Regions from separate parts of the Homo sapiens genome. Here region 1 is linked to region 2. The links are contacts of gene promoters, found by promoter capture Hi-C in human tissues and cell types (Jung and others, 2019). All regions are on one chromosome and are shown on one strand. The core of a region is centred on a gene start or on the middle of the fragment in contact, and the rest is flanking DNA. Distances in the headings are between cores, read along the strand shown.

Region 1 (5,754 bases), core at 2,372-4,871, 270 kb after region 2:
GCAATGATCCCTGGATCCAGAGAGAAGATGGTGGGGATGGTGGGGAGTAGTCCTGATGCCTCCCACAGCTGAAAATCACAATAATAGTCACAGCACACTCATGGTGGCTGCTGACATCCTGGTGCTGTACTGAGCATGGCACATGTTAAGTCATTCAACTCTCACAGCAATCTTATAAGGCAGACATTCTTTTCATACGCATTTTATAGAAGAGGAAACTGAGACTCAGAGAAATGAAGTGATTTGCCTGAGGTCTGCACCACCATCCCTCCAGTGCTACCTCCAGGAGAACCTCATTGATGGGGATACAGGGAACAGCCCCCAAGCCTCTTGGCGTCCTCCAGAGTTTGCTGGGACTGCACTGTGGCATTCTCTTTGCTGAGTAATGTGCCTGATTTTCCTGTAGTCTGTTGGGACCAGATAGGCCAGAGAGTATGGTACTGCCTTAGTTTCCCCAAAGTGGCAGAGGGACAGGGATGAAGGCAGTCGACCAGCACACAGACTAAAATCAGGACAAGATTTGTGGCGTGACTGTGCTCCAAGCAGGAGCCCCCAGTTCTGTGGGAAGTAGCTACTCATGGGGGAATCTCAAAGTCTTTGAAACAAAAGTGACGATTTTGGCCCACTGAGGAAATGCTTGCTGCCACCCTTGAAACTCTCTGGACACTCCAGTGGTGTTTGTGGGTACGAATCCTTGGCTTTTGACAAATCAAGGTTCATTCTAATGCTGTTTCCCAAGGCCCGGCCCAAAGCACCCTGATCAATGGGCAGCCCCCAAATTGTGCCAACACCATGGACTTTGGAGGTCAGGTCTCAGTTACGATGGCTGTGTTAGTCCATTTGCCTTGCTATAAAGAGATACCCAAGGCTGGGTAATTTATAAAGAAAAGAGGTTTGTTTTGGCTCATGGTTCTGCAAGCTGCACAGGAAGCATGGTGCCAGCATGTGTTTCTTATAAGGATACTCGGGAAGCTTCCAATCATGGCAGAAGGCAAAGGCAGTGCAGGCATGTCACATGGCAAGAGAGGGAGCGAGAGAGAGAAAAGGAGATGCCTAGCTCCTTTTTTTTTTTTTTTTTTTTTTTTTGAGACAGAGTCTTACTCTGTCACCTAGGCTGGAGTGCAATGGCACGATCTCAGCTCACTGCAACCTCTGCCTCTTGGGTTCAAGAGATTCTCCTGCCTCAGCCTCCCAAGTAGCTTGAATTACAGGAGCCTGCCACCACACCTGGCTAATTTTTGTATTTTTAGTAGAGATGGGGTTTTGCCTTGTTGGCCAGGCTGGTCATGAATTCCTGACCTCAAGAGACCTGCCTGTCTTGGCCTCCCAAAGTGCTGGGATTACAGGTGTGAAACACTGTTCCTGGCCCCAGGCTCCTTTTAACAATCAGATCTCATGGTAAGCAACACAGCAATAGCTCACTCATTACGGCAAGGACAGCACCAAGCCATTCATGAGGAATTGACCCTAAGGACCCAGACACCTCCCACAAGACCCCATCTCCAATATTAGGAATCACATTTTGATGAGATTTGGAGGGGACACATATCCAAACTATATCAATGGTATTTGCCTGTGAGAAACAAAAAACCCAATGAATGTTATATTAAATAAGTTTATTTGCCTCATGCAATAATGACCAGGGGGAAGAGAATACATTGATGTCATCAAAACCCAGATTACTTCTACCTCCTTTCTCTGCCATCCTTGGCATGTGGAACTGATTGCCTCATGGCCACAGAATAGTTGCTATGCCTCCAGACATCATATCTGTATTCCAGGCAGAATAAAGGAAGAAATCTGATTGGCTGAATCTGTTCCAAAGCCTCTGCCTTTTTGGCTTACATCTTCATGGCCCAAACTGTTCAGTTGGCCACATCTAGCTGCAAGGAAGTCTGGCAAGTTAAGGTTTCTATCATGTCTAGAAGAGGAAGGTAAGGAAAAGGGAGCTGGAAATGGCACTGGGCATCCAATCCTTGCCGTCTGCCAGAGACAGGCAGATTTGGCAATACCACTTAGAACATGACTTTGCACACTTTATTTATTAGAACTTCAGTTTATTCAGTTGGAAAATGAGGGCAATAACAGTATCTCCCTCCCAGGGTTGCAGTGCCTAGAATACAGTAAGTGTTTAATAAATGGTAAATCTCATTGTAATTATTATAATAGGGAAACAATATTTACATAAAAAGGCTAGCACAGCCCCAGTTAATGTCGTTCTGGAAAATTACTGAACTATCCCAAATTATACAGTAATATATCCCAAAATATATTCTACCATCCCTGCGGAGGTAGCTTAAAGTTTTACTTCAAGAGTCCTGAGGCTGAAGAGGGTGGAAATTGCTAACCTGTTTTCTTTGGAGCCAGTCAGAAGAGCCCATCAGGCGGAATAAACCGAGAAGGAGGGAGGTCGACCAGGAAGCTTACAGGACCACAGTCAGGGCCCTGCTCTGCCCATGTGAGGTTGTGATTCTGCGGAGACAAGCGAGGATGGAGACTTCCCAGAACTGGAATGACTCAGATTTTCACCTGCTGCCCTCTCCCTGGTGGAGCTGGCACCCTCTCCCCACCCCACCCACTTCTGTGATGCATTGTTTTGGCTGTTAAGCATACAGAAAGCGGATGGAAGCTGGAGGCTGGAGGCCGGGGCTCCGAGGTGAATATGCAGATGTTGAGAGCTGGGACCAGCACTTGAGCTGGCTTCACCTTGGAACTGGGGGCTGCAGCAGGAGATGCCCCAGTTCCTGGTGTCCCATGGGGATGAAAACTGGGAAGGTCAAGCAGACAGATTTCTGCAGAAAGGAGGTTCCAGCCCTTGTTTAACCAGCCCAGGTGCCTCTGAGAGCCTCCAAGGGTCGTGGTCCACAAGGAGGAGAGTGGACAAGATCCCCATGGGGACCCCCCATGGCTGTTCTGCTTGGGGCTGGTCTCCAACGAGCCCTATCAGTCCCGGGCTTTGGGGAGGTCACGTGGGCATGTCCCAGGGCCCTGTGCAGGCGCAGCTCAGCCCTTGGGTCCCGAGTGGGTCATTTGAGCTGATACAATGTCTGGGGAAGCACAGGTATCCCAGAAATGGGTGGGAGATGCTGGATGCCACTCCACACGCTGCACACGGATGGTATGGAGCTGGCTTGACCGGGCTTGGCTGGTGTCACTCTGCTTAGTGTCATGAGTGTCCATCTGTCCTGTGACCTCCTGGGGCTGCCTGTCTCCTTCCCAGTACTTCAGCAGCAGGGAAGCCTAGGAGAGACTCAAGAGGACATCCTACCTGGTGAAGCCATTCATACATATTGAGCATACATAATGCACCGACTGCATGCACTGCCCTGGGCCAGACCAGTGTTAGAGACAGCCCTGGTCAAGTGCTGAATGCAGCTCTTGATTTTGCTTTGAAGTCTGCTGATTTCTCCCCTCTAGGATGATTTTTTTTAAAGAGATAACTCAGAGTTCGTCAATTGGAAAGAGACACGAAGGAAAAATTAAATTTGGAGTATCGGTGTCCTAAATGGTCAATCCAAGTTGACACCAAGCAGCTGGCCCTCTAGGGAAATCAGCCTCCCCTAAGGGGGTTGGATTTGGGGAGGAAATTGGAGGACTACTGCCTGGCACACAGGTGTCCTCTTCTGAGGCGTCTGGGCTAAGCTGGGCCGGGGAATAATTGTCCATCAGCCCACCCCTCCTCCTAGCAGGTCCCTGACTTGACCCATTGGTTTAAGCTTCTCATTAACCTCCAAGATCGTTCCTGTCTTGGGGCCTTTGCACCTACTGTCTCATCTCCTTGGGCAGAAATGCTCTTTTCCCAATTCTGTGGCCAGAGCCCCTCCTTTCTCACTCTGCAGGGGTCACCTCTTAAGGCAGAGTAGCCACCCAGTCACTCTTCACCCTCTGCGCCTTTCTCATAGTTTTTTTCTTTTTTAGAATTTTATTTTAGAGACAGGGTCTCACTCTGTAGCCCAGACCGGAGCACCATGGTGCCATCATAGCTCACTGCAGCCTCGAACTACACATTTCTGGGCTCAAGCAATCCTCCTGCCTCAGCCTCTCGAGTAGCTGTGACTACAGGCGCAGCCCCCACACCTGGCTAATTTATTTAATTTTTATACTGAGGAGGGTCTTGCTATGTTGCCCAGGCTGGACTCGAACTCCTAGCCTCATGTGATCCTCCCATCTCAGTCTCTCAAATTGCTAGGATTATAGGCATGAGCCACTGTGCCTGGCCCCATGGTTTTATTCCTTTTTTTTTTTTAATTTCATTTTACTTTCAGTTCTGGGATACATGAGCAGAATGTGCAGGTTTGTTACATAGGTATACACGTGCCATGGTGGTTTGCTGCACCTATCAACCTGTCATCTAGGTTTTAAGCCCGGCATGCATGACACATTTGTCCCAGTGCTCTCCCTCCCCTTGCCCCCCATCCTCCAACAGGCTGTGGTGGGTGATGTTCCCCTCCCTGTGTCCATGTGTTCTCATTGTTCAACTCCTACTTATGAGTGAGAACATGCGGTGTTTGGTTTTCTGTTCCTGTGTTAGTTTGCTGAGAATGATGGCTTCCAGCTTCGCCCATGTCCCTGCAAAGGACACGAACTCATTCTTTTTTATGGCTGCAGGCTTTATTCTTTACCAGCACTTATCTTGACATGGTCTCATAACATCCTTCTCCTCCCACTAGGGGATAAGCCCTGTAGCCCCAGTACGTAGAAAAGATCATAGTGCATAGTAGGTCCTCAGTAAATATTATTAGGATGGATGAAAGGGTCCCATTTTACAGATGAGACAACTGAGACCCAGAAGCCAATAGACTTACCAAAGCCCACATCATGGGTCAGTGCCAGGATTTGAACCCAGTCTTCTGTGCTCTTTCTTCCTAGCACTGCCCTCCCTCTCAAATGCTCCAGGTCTCTTCTCATCTCAGCCTGATGATTCCAGCTCTATACTTACAGCCGCTTGACCTTATCCACAAGCCACTTACCTTCCTGTGCCTCAGTTTCCCCTTCTGTAAACTGGGAGTGATAGTGATATTGCCTGTCTTAGAGTACATGTAAATGGTAAATGAGACCACATACACTGGGCCTTGGAGCCAAGTCTTAAAAATGAGCATGGGCCGGGTGCTGTGGCTCATACCTGTAATCCCAGCACTTTGGGAGGCCAAATTGGGAGGATCACTTGAGCCTAGGAGTTCGAGACCAGCCTGGGCAATGCAGCGAGACCCTACCTCTAAAAAAAAGAAAAGAAAAGAAAAATTAGCCAGGTGTGGTGCCGTGCACCTGTGGTCCCAGCTACTTGGAAGGCTGAGGTGGGAGGATTGCTTGAGCCTGGGAAATAGAGGCTGCAGTGAGCTATGATCACACCACTGCACTCCAGCCTGGTTGACAGAGCAAGACCCTGTCTCAAAAAACTGCCTGAGTTCATTCATAGCTGCTCTCTGCCCTCCACTGGTATCTCAAAACATCCTCGCCATCCTTGCTACGTGGACGTTTCTTTGTTGTTGTTGTTTTTAGACAGAGTCTTACTCTGTCACCCAGGCTGGAGTGCAGTGGCACAATCTCGGCTCAACGGCAACCTCCACATCCCGGATTCGAGTGATTCTCCTGCCCCAGCCTCCTGAGTAGCTGGAGCTACAAGTGCCCAACACCATGCCTGGTTGATTTTTGTATTTTTAGTAGAGATGGGGTTTCACCACATTGGCCAGGCTAGTCTTGAACTCCTGACTTTAGGTGATCCACCCACCTCAGCCTCCCAAAATGCTGGGATTA
Region 2 (5,334 bases), core at 256-2,755:
TATACATGAACTTAGAGAACGTTAAAGTTTCAAGGGTTCGAAGCGCCTAGGCTGAATTAAAACAAAAGTTGTTTTGTGTTCTATTAATAGCAGATGATTAACAGATATCTTATTTCACCTGGAATTCATTTGTAAGTATGTAAACTAAACAGGCCACTAATCCTAAGTCTCTGTCTGTGTCTGGAAAAATTCTCTCCTAATACATGCAAGTTAAGAGACCGGCTATCAACGCATTCCTTAAGGTTAGGTCAATTTCATTAAAACCTCGGTTGTTCTTTGACTTCAAGAACCTCACCAAATAACCCATATATAAAAGCCAAGTTCAACTGAAAGGTGGGAGAGGAAGGGTCTAAGGAGGAGGGCGTTTCCCGGGAGAACGCCCAGAGCTCGGCTCACCTGGCGATCCTAATTACAGGGGAGTTTCACCCCCACATTCTTGGGCGCTTTCTTTTCTTAGAGGAAACTCGAGCTTGTGTCTTTGGTCCCGGAGGGCTTAAGCCCGGCAGCCAGGACAGCACGGGTCACTGATTCCAAGAAGTTGGGAGGAGGACGTGGGCCCCACCGACGCACAACAGACCCCTCCCCAACTTAAGTGCACTAGTTGTAAAATGTGTAGCTGGTCAGGGGATGGGGGGTGGTCTCCAGAGCTCTGAGGGTCAGGGAAGAGGAGAAGGGACGGGGAGGAGAAGGGACAGGGGAGGCGGAGAAGGGCCAGGAGAGGAGGGGGAGACACACGGGGAAGGAGGAAGAACCAAGAGGAGGGGGAGGGGGAGGGGGAGGGAGGGGGATAGACTGGGGAGAAGAAGGGACAGGGGAGGAGGGGGAGACACACGGGGGAGAAGGAAGAACCAGGAGGAGGGGAGGGACAGTGTCGAGGGGCAGGGGAGGAGGGAGAGTGAACGGGGAGCGGAGGGGCAGAGGGAGAGGTACAGCGGGGCGGGAAAGAGAGACAGGGAAGAAGCACAGGGAGGAGGGGAGGGAAGGAGGAGGAAAAGTAGGGGGGAGGGGATGGGGAGGGACTGGGAGGAAGGAGAGGGCCAGGGGAGGAAGAAGAGGGGCTGTGGAGGGCCAGGGGAGGAGTGGGAGAGACCGGGAGAGGTGGAAGGACGCGGGGGAGGGGAGCTGGAGGGAGGGAAAGTACCTTCCCGCGTAAAGTCCCCTTCTGAACCCCGAGGTGGAAAGCCCTGACCTCCCTGAGCCCCGGGCCCTGGGCTTACCCGGTAGGTGCTCTCCGTGAGCCGGTTCACCTCCTCGGGCCCCCGGGACATGGCTGCGGCCGCCGGGCGAGCAAGCGCGGGAGGACGCGGCTGGGCCTCGTGGCCGCCGGACTCCGGGCAGCGGGAGGGCCGGGGCGCGACTAAGGGGCTCTGGAGGGTCGGCCGCCGCCGCAGCCGTCGGCCCGAGAGTGCCCGCGCGCGTCTCCGCTGCGAAAATGTCAAAACTTGCGGCAGCGCCGCCCTGGCCTTCTTCGAGGAGCAGAGGAGAAGCGGCCGGACGCCGCCAGAGGAAGCTGGGCGGGCCGGGCGGCCCCACCTGAGGCGGGCGGGGCAGACGGGGGCGGGGCCGCAGGGCCGGAGGGGCGTGGCGTACCCACCTGAGGCGGCCTGGTGAGCGGGGCCCGGCCGGGGTGGGCGGGGAGGAGGCGGGGCCAGGCAGCTGGAATGGGCGTGGCCAGAGGGAAGCGGGCCCCCCGAGTGGGCGGGGTCACCCCACCTGTGGCGGACAGGGCAGCGAGGCCACGGTGCGCCCCCTCGCGGCTCTCCCAGAGCTCCGGCGACGTAGGGCCCGAGACCCTGGAGTGGGGACCGGTGTGGAGTGGGCTGCTCGCTTTGCTGTTTTGCTAGGGCAAGGGCAGCCTGGGGGTGTTTAGACTGTGGTCCTGGAGCCCTTGTTTGCCTCGCGTGGTGCTGGCCCCGGGGACCCCGAGGCCCACTTCCTCCATGAGGGCTTCCTTCAAGCCCTGCGTTTTGGGGACCAAGGGAAGGGGCCACATTCCCCAGTTGTATTGATTTCCCTGATTGATCTCTTCTTGCCCCGCCGCTCACTGACCCCAAAAGTTAGAGGGACCCGTGGGGGCATCGGCCCTCCTAGGTGGAGAAAACGGGCTGCCACTTGCAGTTTTGAAAGCTCCTGATATATCAAAAAATTAATAAATGCCAGGGTCTAGTTACCGAAATGTTAGTACTTTTTTTTTTTTGAGATGGAGTCTCACTCTGTCGCCTAGGCTGGAGTGCAGTGGTGCGATCTCAGCTTGCTGCAACCTCCGCTTCCCAGGTTCAAGCGATTCTCCTGCCTGGCATGAGCCATCCTGCCTGGCCCCCAGATAGAAGCTTTTTGTTTGTTTTTGAGACAGAGTTTCACTCTTGTCCCCTCAGGCTGGAGTGCAGTGGTGCTCTCTCAGCTTGCTGCAATCTCTGCCCCCCAGGTTTAAGCAATTCTCCTGCCTCAGCCTCTCGAGTAGCTGAGATTACAGGTGCACGTGCCACCAAGCCAGGCTAATTTTTTTGTATTTTTAGTAGAGACGGGGTTTCACCATGTTGGCCAGGTTGGTCCCGAGCTCCTAACCTCAGGTGATCCGCCCTGCTCAGCCTCCCAAAGTGCTGGGATTACAGGCTTGAACCACCGCGCCCGGCCCAGTAGTACATTTTTAAACTTTACATTAACAACGACCTTTAACTCAATGCAGTGTAACCATGCTACTCACGAGATTGTTGTAGGGTTTAGAAAACCACCTGAGCTGAAGTGTTAGGGAAGCCTCTCTTCTTGTCATCACTCAAACTCTGTGGAGGTGTGTGGCTCCTGGGCTCCCTATTTTGTCTCCATCCCGGCCTCAGCCCTGCCCAAGGGTGAGGCAGCTGCCTTCTTTGGGCCTCTCTTCCAGGATTATGTACCTTGGGCTGGGTGACAGCCTTCTCCCCAGTAAGAACCACCATTTAGCTACCTGAGACCCGCACCCAACAAGGGCAGAGGTCTTATTCTGATTTTTTAAAACCTCTGGGCTTGGTGGCTCATGCCTGTAATCCTAGCACTTTGGGAGGCCAAGGCAGGCGGATCACTTGAGGTCAGGAGTTCGAGACCAGCCTAGCCAACATGGTGAAACCGCCCTGCCCCCGTCTCTACTAAAAATACAAAAATTAGCCAGGCATGGTAGCACGTGCACCTGTAATCTCAGCTACTCGGGAGGCTGAGGCAGGAGAATTGCTTAAACCTGGGAGGCAGAGATTGCAGTGAGCTGAGATAGCACCACTGCACTCCAGCCTGAGGGACAAGAGCGAAACTCTGTCTCAAAAACAAACAAACAAAAAGCTTCTATCTGGGGGCCAGGCAGGATGGCTCATGCCTGTAATCCGAGCACTTCGGGAGACCAAGGCAGGAGGACTGGTTGAGTCTAGGAGTTCGAGGCCAGCCTAGGCAATATAGGGAGCCCACCCCCATCTCTGCAAAAAATATAATTAAAAACATTAGCCAAGTGTGATAGTGTGCATCTGTAGTCCCAGCTATTCCGGAGGCTGAGGTAGGAGGATGGCTTGAGCCCAAGAGGTTGCAGTGAGCTGTGATGGTGCCACTGCATTCCAGCTTGGGCCACAGAGTGAGACTCTGTTTCAAAAAACAAACAAAAATGCCAAAACGTCTATGTGAGTGCAATTGCATCTTTTATGGGCTGTTAAGATGTGAGACTTCTGGCCAGGCGCAGTGGCTCACGCCTGTAATGCCAGCACTTTAGGAGACTGAGGCAGGCAGATCACCTGAGGTCAGGAGTTTGAGACCAGCCTGACCAACATGGAGAAACCCCGTCTATACTAAAAATACAACATTGACCAGGTTTGATGGTGCATGCCTAAATCCCAGCTACTCAGCAGGCTGAGGCAGGAGAATCACTTGAACCTGGGAGGCTGAGGTTGTGGTGAGTGAGATCACGCCATTGCACTCCAGCCTGGGCAACAAGAGCGAAAATTTGTCTCAAAAAAAAAAAAAAAAGAAAAAGAAAAGAAAAGAAAAAAGAAAGATGTGAGACTTCTAAACTAATCTTGTGATAAAGTTCACTAGGAAATATACACAATGAAGGCACTGTGTGGCCCAGATGGGAACATCAAGAGGGTGAGTACCACTGGACTTAGAACAGAAACCACCACCTGGACTTGGGGACTGTTTTATTGGGTTTTGCAAACTATAAAACACATCATGCAGCTAGGCACAGCGGCTCACGCCTGTAATCCCAGCACTTTGGGAGGCCAAGGTGGGTGGATCACTTGGGGTCAGGAGTTAGAGATCAGCCTCACCAATATGGTGAAGCCCCGTCTCTACTAAAAATACAAAAATTAGCCGGGTGTGGTGGCAGGCACCTGTAGTCCCAGCTACTCGGGAGGCTGAGACAGGAGAAGCGCTTGAACCCGGGAGGCGGAGGTTACAGTGAGCCGGGATCTCATGCCACTGCACTGCAGCCTGGGCAAGAGAGTGAGACTCTGTCTCAAAACAAACAAGCAAACAAAAAAAACTTACCATTCTTGGGAACCAAAATGTTATGTCTTCCTGATGTTAGGGGGAAATAACACATCAGTCCCAAGTTTCTGGCAATGGAAGCAGGTGCCTTCTTCTTTAACAGATTTACAGTATTTAGTTCATGAGGTTTGCCAACTGGGTTTCACTTCCCATATGGGAGATGCATTCATGACTTTATAATTTCTACCATTATGTATTCGGCTCTGCAAGTATGTCTGTTGGTTTTTATTGAAACTTGAAAATAGGCTGGGCGCGGTGGCTCACGCCTGTAATCCCAGCACTTTGGGAGGCCGAGGCGGGTGGATCACAAGGTCAGGAGATCGAGACCATCCTGGTCAACGTGGTGAAACCCCGTCTCTACTAAAATACAAAAATCAGCCGGGCGTGGCAGTATGTGCCTGTAGTCCCAGCTACTTGGGAAGCTGAGGCAGGATAATTACTTGAACTCGGGTGGCGGAGGTTGCAGTGAGCCGAGATCGTGCCACTGCACTCCAGCCCGGGCGACAGAGTGAGATTCTGTCACAAACAAACAAACAAACAAACAAACAAACAGTAGTGCAGTTCTCAGCTCAGTGCTTGGCACATAGATGCCTGGGAGGTCTTGGCTGAACAAAATACAAATGAGTATTGATGATCTGCTGTGCAGGCAGGGAGTCTGCTGGGGGCTGCAGTGTGCAGAATGAACTGGGCTTGAACCATGCCTGTGCAGAAGGTAGAATTTGAGGACTACAGTGAAAGCCATCCAGGTACAGCCAATCATGCCATAGGTGGACAAGTGGATGTGATCTCAAAAGGCCATTTGTTTTAGACTCTTCAAGTACATTTGCTGGTTTC

Evidence for each region. The method cuts DNA at HindIII sites, captures the fragments that hold promoters and counts their contacts. A contact is called where the count stands out against the background at its distance.
Region 1: a contact is called between a fragment that was not itself captured here and the fragment with the promoter of BAIAP2L1 in region 2, in 2 of the 25 tissues and cell types used here (H1 embryonic stem cells and dorsolateral prefrontal cortex).

Annotation. Positions count from the first base shown.
Region 1 is chr7:98,672,103-98,677,856 of GRCh38, forward strand. No RefSeq gene overlaps it. Among named protein-coding and RNA genes, the nearest start is that of NPTX2, 58 kb to the left of the region's middle. The HindIII fragment of the contact is 3,848 bases long and covers 1,698-5,545 here.
Region 2 is chr7:98,399,585-98,404,918 of GRCh38, forward strand. It overlaps BAIAP2L1 (BAR/IMD domain containing adaptor protein 2 like 1), which reads right to left and starts at 1,506. Exons shown (of 14, transcript NM_018842.5): 1 at 1,218-1,506. The coding sequence starts at 1,268. RefSeq lists a silencer at 1,180-1,839. The HindIII fragment of the contact is 4,393 bases long and covers 1-2,818 here.